Regions from separate parts of the Homo sapiens genome. Here region 2 is linked to region 1. Evidence: promoter capture Hi-C in 16 types of primary human blood cells and fetal thymus (Javierre and others, 2016). All regions are on one chromosome and are shown on one strand. The core of a region is centred on a gene start or on the middle of the fragment in contact, and the rest is flanking DNA. Distances in the headings are between cores, read along the strand shown. Region 1 holds the start of PABPC1 (poly(A) binding protein cytoplasmic 1). Region 2 has its middle 4.9 kb from the start of INTS8.

Evidence for each region. The method cuts DNA at HindIII sites, captures the fragments that hold promoters and counts their contacts. A CHiCAGO score of 5 or more calls a contact.
Region 2: a contact is called between a fragment that was not itself captured here and the fragment with the promoter of PABPC1 in region 1, in 1 of 17 cell types (neutrophils). The highest score is 5.5, in neutrophils.

What each region holds. Positions count from the first base shown.
Region 1 is chr8:100,720,229-100,724,234 of GRCh38, reverse strand. PABPC1 (poly(A) binding protein cytoplasmic 1) reads left to right here and starts at 2,147. Exons shown (of 15, transcript NM_002568.4): 1 at 2,147-2,844. The coding sequence starts at 2,652. RefSeq lists enhancers at 1,020-1,520, 1,521-2,021, 2,076-2,908 and silencers at 1,311-2,020, 2,101-2,180, 2,861-2,970. The HindIII fragment of the contact is 6,173 bases long and covers 1-4,006 here.
Region 2 is chr8:94,816,139-94,820,593 of GRCh38, reverse strand. No RefSeq gene overlaps it. Among named protein-coding and RNA genes, the nearest start is that of INTS8, 4.9 kb to the left of the region's middle. The HindIII fragment of the contact is 7,350 bases long and covers 1-4,455 here.

The sequences.
Region 1 (4,006 bases), core at 898-3,397:
TCCTGATGACTGGCTCCCTTCCCAAACTATGTATTCACCTACAAAGCACTAATATACTTTTCTAGTGATGAGAATGCTTCCATTTACCATCCAGGGCATCACTGCCTGTCAAGCTGCCCTGGAAGCCTAACAACTGTTTATTTTTTATTTATTTGAGTCTCGTTCTGTCACCAGGCTGGAGTGCAGTGACGCAATCCTGGCTCACTGCAACCTCCGCCTCCCGGGTTCAAGCGATTCTCCTGCCTCAGGCTCCCGAGTAGCTGGGACTATAGGCGCGCGCCACCACGCCCAGCTAATTTTTGTATTTTTAGTAGAGACGGGGTTTCACCATGTTGGCCAGGATGGTCTCGATCTCTTGACCTCGTGATCTGCCCCCCTTGGCTTCTCAAAGTGCTGGGATTACAGGCGTGAGCCACCGCGCCTGGCTACTTTTTGTATTTTTAGTAGAGACGGGGTTTCACCATGTTGGCCAGGCTGGTCTCGAACTCCTGACCTCAAGTGATCAGCGTGCGTCAGCCTCCCAAAGTGCTGGAATTACAGGAGTGAGCCACCGCGCCCGGTCACATTTTATCCTCTTTTTAATAGGAGCAAAATAGTATTTATGTGGGATTCCACTGGTTTAAATTCTAATTAAATGAGACAAGATATAAAGTACTTAATTCCACACCTAGCAATACAGTTGACATCCATTAAAGTTTATTGAATTAAGGAATAAATTGGGCAATCATTTAACTTCTTTGAGACTGTTCCTGTAACAGTAAAGTAAAATTATTACTACTTGCTCCACCTCCCACACCAGATTGCTCTCAGGAACAAATGATAGTATGTTTACGCGAGTGCTTTAAAAACTGTAAAAGCACTTTACTACTTTCGAGTGGAATTTGTATGTTGATTTAATGTCATTCCTAGAGCCGGTTTTTATTACTATCAATTCGTTAAATTTAGCATTCCTATTAAAACCCACTACTAATGTGCAGAATTGTTTTAGTTATTTATAAGGACGTTGTTTTAGACTATTCCTAATTTTGTCTGGTTGCAGGGCTGTGGTGCCATATAGTAGTGATTGTGACAAACCCGTACTTTCAGGAAAAACATTCACTTTTCTCCACTCCTGGTTTCTATCGCCAAGAAATGTCTGGCAGAAGCAGCACAAATCAATGATTCCAGCCTAGCACCTTAAGGTAAGAAGTGACCAAAGACCCCCAACACAGCTATCCCAAATTAAAGCCACTTTGACCAACGACAACGTCCAGTGAAGACACGGAGGAGGGTCGGGCTGGAAAAGAAGAGGACGAGGAACCCGAGGGGCCCTCCCCTCTCTCTCCCTGCCCCCCAACCCCGCGCCGGGAGCTCCAGCGGTGCCGGGGTCCAGCGCGCAGGACGGTTGGGGGGTCCCGGAGCGGGCGGCCAGGACCCGCGCAGCCAGTTGGTGTCAGCGAGCGCCGCGGCCGTTGGGGACTCCAGCTCCCAGCAGGCACCGCTTCTGCGGCCGACGCGCGTGGCGGCGGTGCCGGCTGGGACTCGTAGTGCGGTCCGGGTAGGAGAGAGCAGGGGGCCACGCTGGCTCCATCTACGCACGTTTCGGAAACCGGGCCCGGAGGGGACCACGCCCGCTCACCCGTGCCCGGCGTCCCCCGGAGCTGGGGCTAGAGGAGCCGGGCCGGCCGCAGCGGGAAGAGGCCACAGGCGGCCGCGCACGTGGGGGGTGGTTAGCGCGGAGGAACCCGGAAGCCCTTTGCACCGCCCACCGCCGCGGTGACGGGTTAACGCTCCTCCTGGTGGAGGCAGGGGCGGGCGGGGCGGAAGGCGGGGACGCCTCAGCCAACACCCCCGAGGACCGCCCGCGAGCCGTCCTCCCCACCCCCACGGACGCGACGCAGCGCGGGCTCCGCTTCCCCGGCCGCGGCGCCTGCGCAAAAGCCCCGCCCCTTCGCCCGAGCCCCACCCCCACACCGCAGCCTCCACCGCCGCCACCTCTCCCTTCCTCTCTGCTCTTTCCTCCTGTTTTCTCTTCCCTCCTCCCCCTGGCCTCCGCGTCTCCTCCTACTCCGGCGCTGACGCTCGCGTAGGGGCCCTGGCGTCAGACGCGCGGGGGCGGGGCGAGTGCGGCGCGGGGTATAAGTAGAGGGTGCAGGAGGCGGTGCTTCCCCTTCTCCCCGGCGGTTAGTGCTGAGAGTGCGGAGTGTGTGCTCCGGGCTCGGAACACACATTTATTATTAAAAAATCCAAAAAAAATCTAAAAAAATCTTTTAAAAAACCCCAAAAAAATTTACAAAAAATCCGCGTCTCCCCCGCCGGAGACTTTTATTTTTTTTCTTCCTCTTTTATAAAATAACCCGGTGAAGCAGCCGAGACCGACCCGCCCGCCCGCGGCCCCGCAGCAGCTCCAAGAAGGAACCAAGAGACCGAGGCCTTCCCGCTGCCCGGACCCGACACCGCCACCCTCGCTCCCCGCCGGCAGCCGGCAGCCAGCGGCAGTGGATCGACCCCGTTCTGCGGCCGTTGAGTAGTTTTCAATTCCGGTTGATTTTTGTCCCTCTGCGCTTGCTCCCCGCTCCCCTCCCCCCGGCTCCGGCCCCCAGCCCCGGCACTCGCTCTCCTCCTCTCACGGAAAGGTCGCGGCCTGTGGCCCTGCGGGCAGCCGTGCCGAGATGAACCCCAGTGCCCCCAGCTACCCCATGGCCTCGCTCTACGTGGGGGACCTCCACCCCGACGTGACCGAGGCGATGCTCTACGAGAAGTTCAGCCCGGCCGGGCCCATCCTCTCCATCCGGGTCTGCAGGGACATGATCACCCGCCGCTCCTTGGGCTACGCGTATGTGAACTTCCAGCAGCCGGCGGACGGTGAGCGCCGGGCTCCGCGGTCGGCCGGGCGGGCGGGCGGCCATGAGGCTCGGGCGGCGGCGGCGGGCGGGGTAGGCCGGCGGGCCCGGGGAGGGGGGCGGGAGGGCATGTCACCCCGCGACGGCCGGCGGGAAGGCGCCGGGGTCCCTGGAGCCGCGTTTCCCGAGCCGGCGGGGACCCGCGCTGCCGGCAGCCACACGCCCGGCTACTTCCTCCTTTGCGACCATTTTCTCGGCCTCAGACGCTCTCAAACTTTAGGGTGATGACGCGCCGGGAGGGTGGGTGAGATTCGGTTCCTCCGCGGCGCTCCCGCCAGTGGCCCCGGGATTCTGGGGCGTTGAACGCTGAGCTCCTTCCGTGGGTAAGAGGTGGAGGCGCTCCCACCACCCGGAGCTCCTGCCGGCGCCCCAGCCTGGGGAGGAAGTGCAGTTCTGTGCTCGAAAAATACCACGTGTTGAACCCTGTAACCTCGCAGGCCCGAGGCCTGCTTCTGCTCCTGCTCCTGGCCCAGTCGCCTGGGGGAGCCACCAGGCCTTAGGATAAAGTTCCTGTGGCGATGTGTGGTGTGGTGGTGGTCCTCAGGCTTGTGAGTCCACTTCCCAGAACTCATCAGTGACTGATGGATCTAGGAATGGAATTTACCGGAGACATGCATTTGGGGTTTCCCCTAGATCAAGCATTTCTCTAACATTAAAAGGGCAGAGTGGGAGGAGGGGATGTGGCAGCCGACCACTTTGAAGGCCAGTTTTCTCAGGCAACTTAGACCATTTTTAGTCAAATTTTATCTTAGATTCACAGTACTGGTGGTTTTCGAGTATATTATGTTACCTTCTGAAATAGTTCCTGTCGTTTTGAGGGGCTTTTCTTTATAAAATAGTCAACTTTGGCTATAAAATGTTACTTTAGTGTAATTCCAACTGGACCAGTCTTATCTGTAGCATGCAAGAAGTTCAAGTTTCTCTTTTATTTTTAAAAGTGGCCCATGATACCTGTAAATCTTGGGAAATGACTGAGTACAAAATAACGGAGATTAAATTGAGCTTGAAATTTATGGGGGAAATGCAGCTAACTTTGTGCTTTTATTTTGAAGCTAAACAGTTAACAGAAACACAATTTTGTAAACAGATAATATCTGTGGTCTGTTGAGTTGCTAGGATTTGTC
Region 2 (4,455 bases), core at 1,059-3,558, 5.9 Mb after region 1:
GCTCACGCCTGTGATTTCATCACTTTAGGAGGCCGAGGTGGGTGGATCACAAGGTCAGGAGTTCAAGACCAGCCTGGCCAAGATGGTGAAACCCTGTCTTTACTAAAAATACAAAAATTAGCCGGGCATGGTGGTGATGCGTCTGTAATCCCAGCTACTCGGGAGGCTGAGACAGAGAATCACTTGAACCCAGGAGGTGGAGGTTGCAATGAGCTGAGATCATGCCACTGCACTCCAGCCTGGGTGACAGAGTGAGACTGTCTCAAAAAAAAAAAAAAAAAGGAAAGAAAAGAAAAGAAACGCAAATCACTAGCCTGGGCAACAACGTGAGACCCCATCTCTACAAAAAACACAAAAATTAGCCAGGCATGGCGATACATGCCTGTGGTCCCAGCTACCCTGGGAGACTGAGGTGGGAGGATGGCTTGAGCCTGGGAAGCAGGCTGCAGTGAGCTATGATTATGCCACTGCACTCTGGGCTGGGTGACAGAGCGAGACTTTGTCTCAAATAAATACATAAATAAATAAAGCAAAACAAAACTGTGTGAAATACCACTTCACACCCACTAAAATGGCTATGATCAAAAAGACAAAAATAAGTATTGGTGATGATATGAAATTAGAACCTCCATACATGTCAAATGTAAAATGCTACAGCCACTTTTGAAACCAGTTTGGCAGTTTCTCAAAATGTTAAAAATAGGCCGGGCACGGTGGGTCACGCCTGTAATCCCAGCACTTTGGGAGGCCGAGGCGGGCGGATCACCTGAGGTCAGGAGTTCGAGACCAGCCTGACCAACATGGAGAAACCCCATCTCTACTAAAAAATACAAAATTAGCTGGGCTTGGTGGCACATGCCTGTAATCCCAGCTACTCAGGAGGCTGAGGCAGGAGAATCGCTTGAACCCGGGAGGCAGAGGTTGCGGTGAGCCGAGATCGCGCCATTGCACTCCAGCTTAGGCGACAAGAATGAAACTCTGTCTCAAAAAAAAAAAAATGTTAAAAATAGGCTTACCAGATGACTCAGCAATTCCCCTTCTAGGTATGTATCCAAGAGAAAGGAGAAAATGTACCCACACAAAGACTTGAATGTTTAGAACAGCAGTATCTACAGTAGCCTAAAAGTAGAAACCAAGGTCTATAACCTGGTGAATAGACAAATAAAATGTGACATACTCATTGTATCTGTTTCAAGTGGCTGCTGTAACAAATTACCACAAACTTTGTGGTTTAAAACAACAGAAACTGGCCGAGTGCAGTGGCTCACGCCTGTAATCCCAGCACTTTGGGAGGCTGAGGTGGAGAGTCCAGGAATTCAAGACGTATCTGGGCAGCATAGTGAGACTTCTGTCTCTACAAAAAAATCAAAATAAAAAATAAGGCTGGGATGGTGGTGTGCGTCTGTAGTCCTGGCTATGTGGGAAACTGAGGTGGGAGGATTGCTTGAGCCCAAGAGGATGAGGCTACAGTGAGCCGAGATTGCACCACTGCACTCAGGTGGGTGACAGAGTGAGACCCTGTCTCAAAAAAAAAAAAAAAAAGAAAAGAAAGAAAGAATGAGAACAGACTGTGGTCATTCAGACTTGGGTATTTAGCAGACATTTTCTTGAACAAAGTGAGCCTGTCATGTCACTTTATGGAAAACAACTAACACCATTTGTGGCGAATAATAACATTCAATTTTTTTTTTTTTTTTTTGAGATGGAGTTTTGCTCTTGCTGCCCAGGCTGGAGTGCAATGGTGCTATCACCGCTCACTGCAACCTCCACCTCTCAGGTTCAAGCGATTCTCCTGCCTCAGCCTCCCGAATAGCTGGGATTACAGGCACTGCCACCACCACACCTGGCTAATTTTTCTATTTTTAGTAGAGATGGGGTTTCACCATGTTGGCCAGACTGGTCTTGAACTCCTGACCTCAAGTGATCCTCCCACCTTGGCCTCCCAAAGTGCTGGGATTACAGACATGAGCCACCGCTCCTGGCCAACATTCAACTTTTTAAGTAAAATTAGAATTTTAGAAAACTGTAAACTTGGCAGCTTCCCAATACTTGACAAGACTTTTCTGATGACACCAATGGCGATATTAACAAATGTATATTTAAATGTGTCAACTTTCAGATGATCATCACAACTTGACAAATCAATCAATATTTTCCTAATATATGGCTAAAAGATTTATTTAAATTCCAAGACAAGCCGAGCACAGTGGCTCATGCCTGTAATCCCAACACTTTGGGAGGCAGGGGCAGGATGATCACTTGAAACCAGGAGTTGGAGACTGCAGCGAGCTATGATCATGCCACTGTACTCCAGTCTGGGTGACAGAGCGAGACCCTGCCTCTTAAAAGTAAATAAATAAAAAATTTCAGCTGGGCACGGTGGCTCATGCCTGTAATCCCAGCACTTTGGGAGGCCGAGGTGGGAGGATGACGAGGTCAGGAGTTTGGACCAGCCTGGCCAACGTGATCAAACCCTGTCTCTATTAAAAATACAAAAATTAGCTGGCATGGTGGCAGGTGCCTGTAATCCTAGCTACTCAGGAGTCTGAAGCAGGAGAATAGCTTGAACCCGGGAGGCAGAGGTTGCAGTGAGCAGAAATCGCATCACTGTACTCCAGCCTGGGCGACAGAGCAAGACTCCATCTCAAAACAAAACAAAACAAAAAATTTCAAGACAGACTGATGAATTGTAATGGAACGGAATTTGAAAAGTTAATTGGTATGATTTCAGATTTAAAATTGCAGCTAATCTTTAAGAAACAACCACTTTCTCAGGTTTTGGTGAAGAAAGTCCATAATTATCCGAAAAGATATAAAATACTTCTTTTTTTAACTACTCATCTATGTGAGCAATGCCACTCTTCTAGTTTTTAAAATGAAAATAGTTATTTTATATAAAATTGTATTTGTCAGCATGTAATAGGATTATTTTTATTTTTATATGATTATTTTATTTTAATTTAAATAAATTAAATATTTTTAAAACTTCTCAGTGTTAATTTTTAATATGGTAAATATAAACAAACACTCTTTTAAGTGCTTAATAATTTTTTGGTCTAACAGGGCCCTGAGACTAAAAAATCTGAGAAACTATTTTATTGAGGCATGCACATCAAAATCCTACTGTGTTTGGCTCTGAAGAGAAGAGGGAAGGAGGATAGAACAGGGGTGGGTTAGAGAAGGGGAGAGGAGAGGTGAATGGGGGGAAGGAGTGGGGGAGGGGGGTCACAGGTACTTCAACTTTATCTGTATTTTTTTTTTTTGAGACAGAGTCTTGCTCTGTTGCCCAGGCTGGAGTGCAATGGTGCGCTCTTGGCTCGCTGCAACCTCCACCTCCCAGGTTCAAGTGATTCTCCTACCTCAGCCTCCAGAGTAGCTGGGATTACAGGCACGCCACCATGCCTGGCTAATTTTTGTATTTTTAGTAGAGACAGGTTACACTATGTCGACCGGGCTGGTCTCGAACTCCTGACCTCAGGTGATCTACCCGCCTCAGCCTCCCAAAGTGCTGGGATTACAGACGTGAGCCACCGCACCCCGTTCTGGTTTTTGTTTGTTTGTTTTGTGATGGTATCTCTCTGTTGCCCAGGCTGGAGTGCAGTGGCATTTAGCTCACTGCCTCCTTGACATCCTGGGTTCAAGTGATCCTTCTGCCTCAGCCTCCTGAGTAGCTGGGACCACAGATGAATACCACCATGCCCAGCTAATTTATTTATTTTTTTGCAGAGATAGGGTCTTGCTATGTTGCCCACCCAGGCTGATCTGGAGCTCTTGGGCTCCAGTGATCCTCCCACGTTGGCCTCCCAAAGTGCTGGAATTACAGGTGTAAGCCACTGTGCCCAGCCATATATAGATGCTTTTAAAGTCCCTGATATTTCCTCAAAACCCATGAAAAATTCTATGGGCTCATAGAAACAAACTATTATGGAGCATTTGTTACATACCATGACCCAAATTAGGGCCTTTATATCCTCGTTTTCTCATTTGATCTTTCAACATCCTAGAAAGTAGGAATTATGAGCTCACCTTACAGCTGAAGAAGCTGAGGATCAGAGAAGTTATTGTTCTTAATTTTTTTTCTGTGGATTTACAACTATTTAAAAAACAAAAAATCAATAGCACACAAATTTGGTGGAACTTTTATTATAATTGCACCAAATCTATAGATAAACTTGATAATACAGTAATGAGACTCCTTATCTAGGAGCAGAATAAGTAGATCAGTAGCTTCGTCAAAGTCTCCCAGAGAATAAATGTTAGAACCAGGGTTTGGTCCCTGATATGACCTTCGTTAAATTGAACCACTGCTATGGTCTGAATGTTTGTGTTCCCCCCACATTCATGTGTTGAAAACTAGACCATGCATGGTGGCTCACGCCTGTAATCCCAGCACTTTGGGAGGCCGAGGCGGGCGGATCACCTGAGGTAAGGAGTTCAAGACCAGCCTGGCCAACA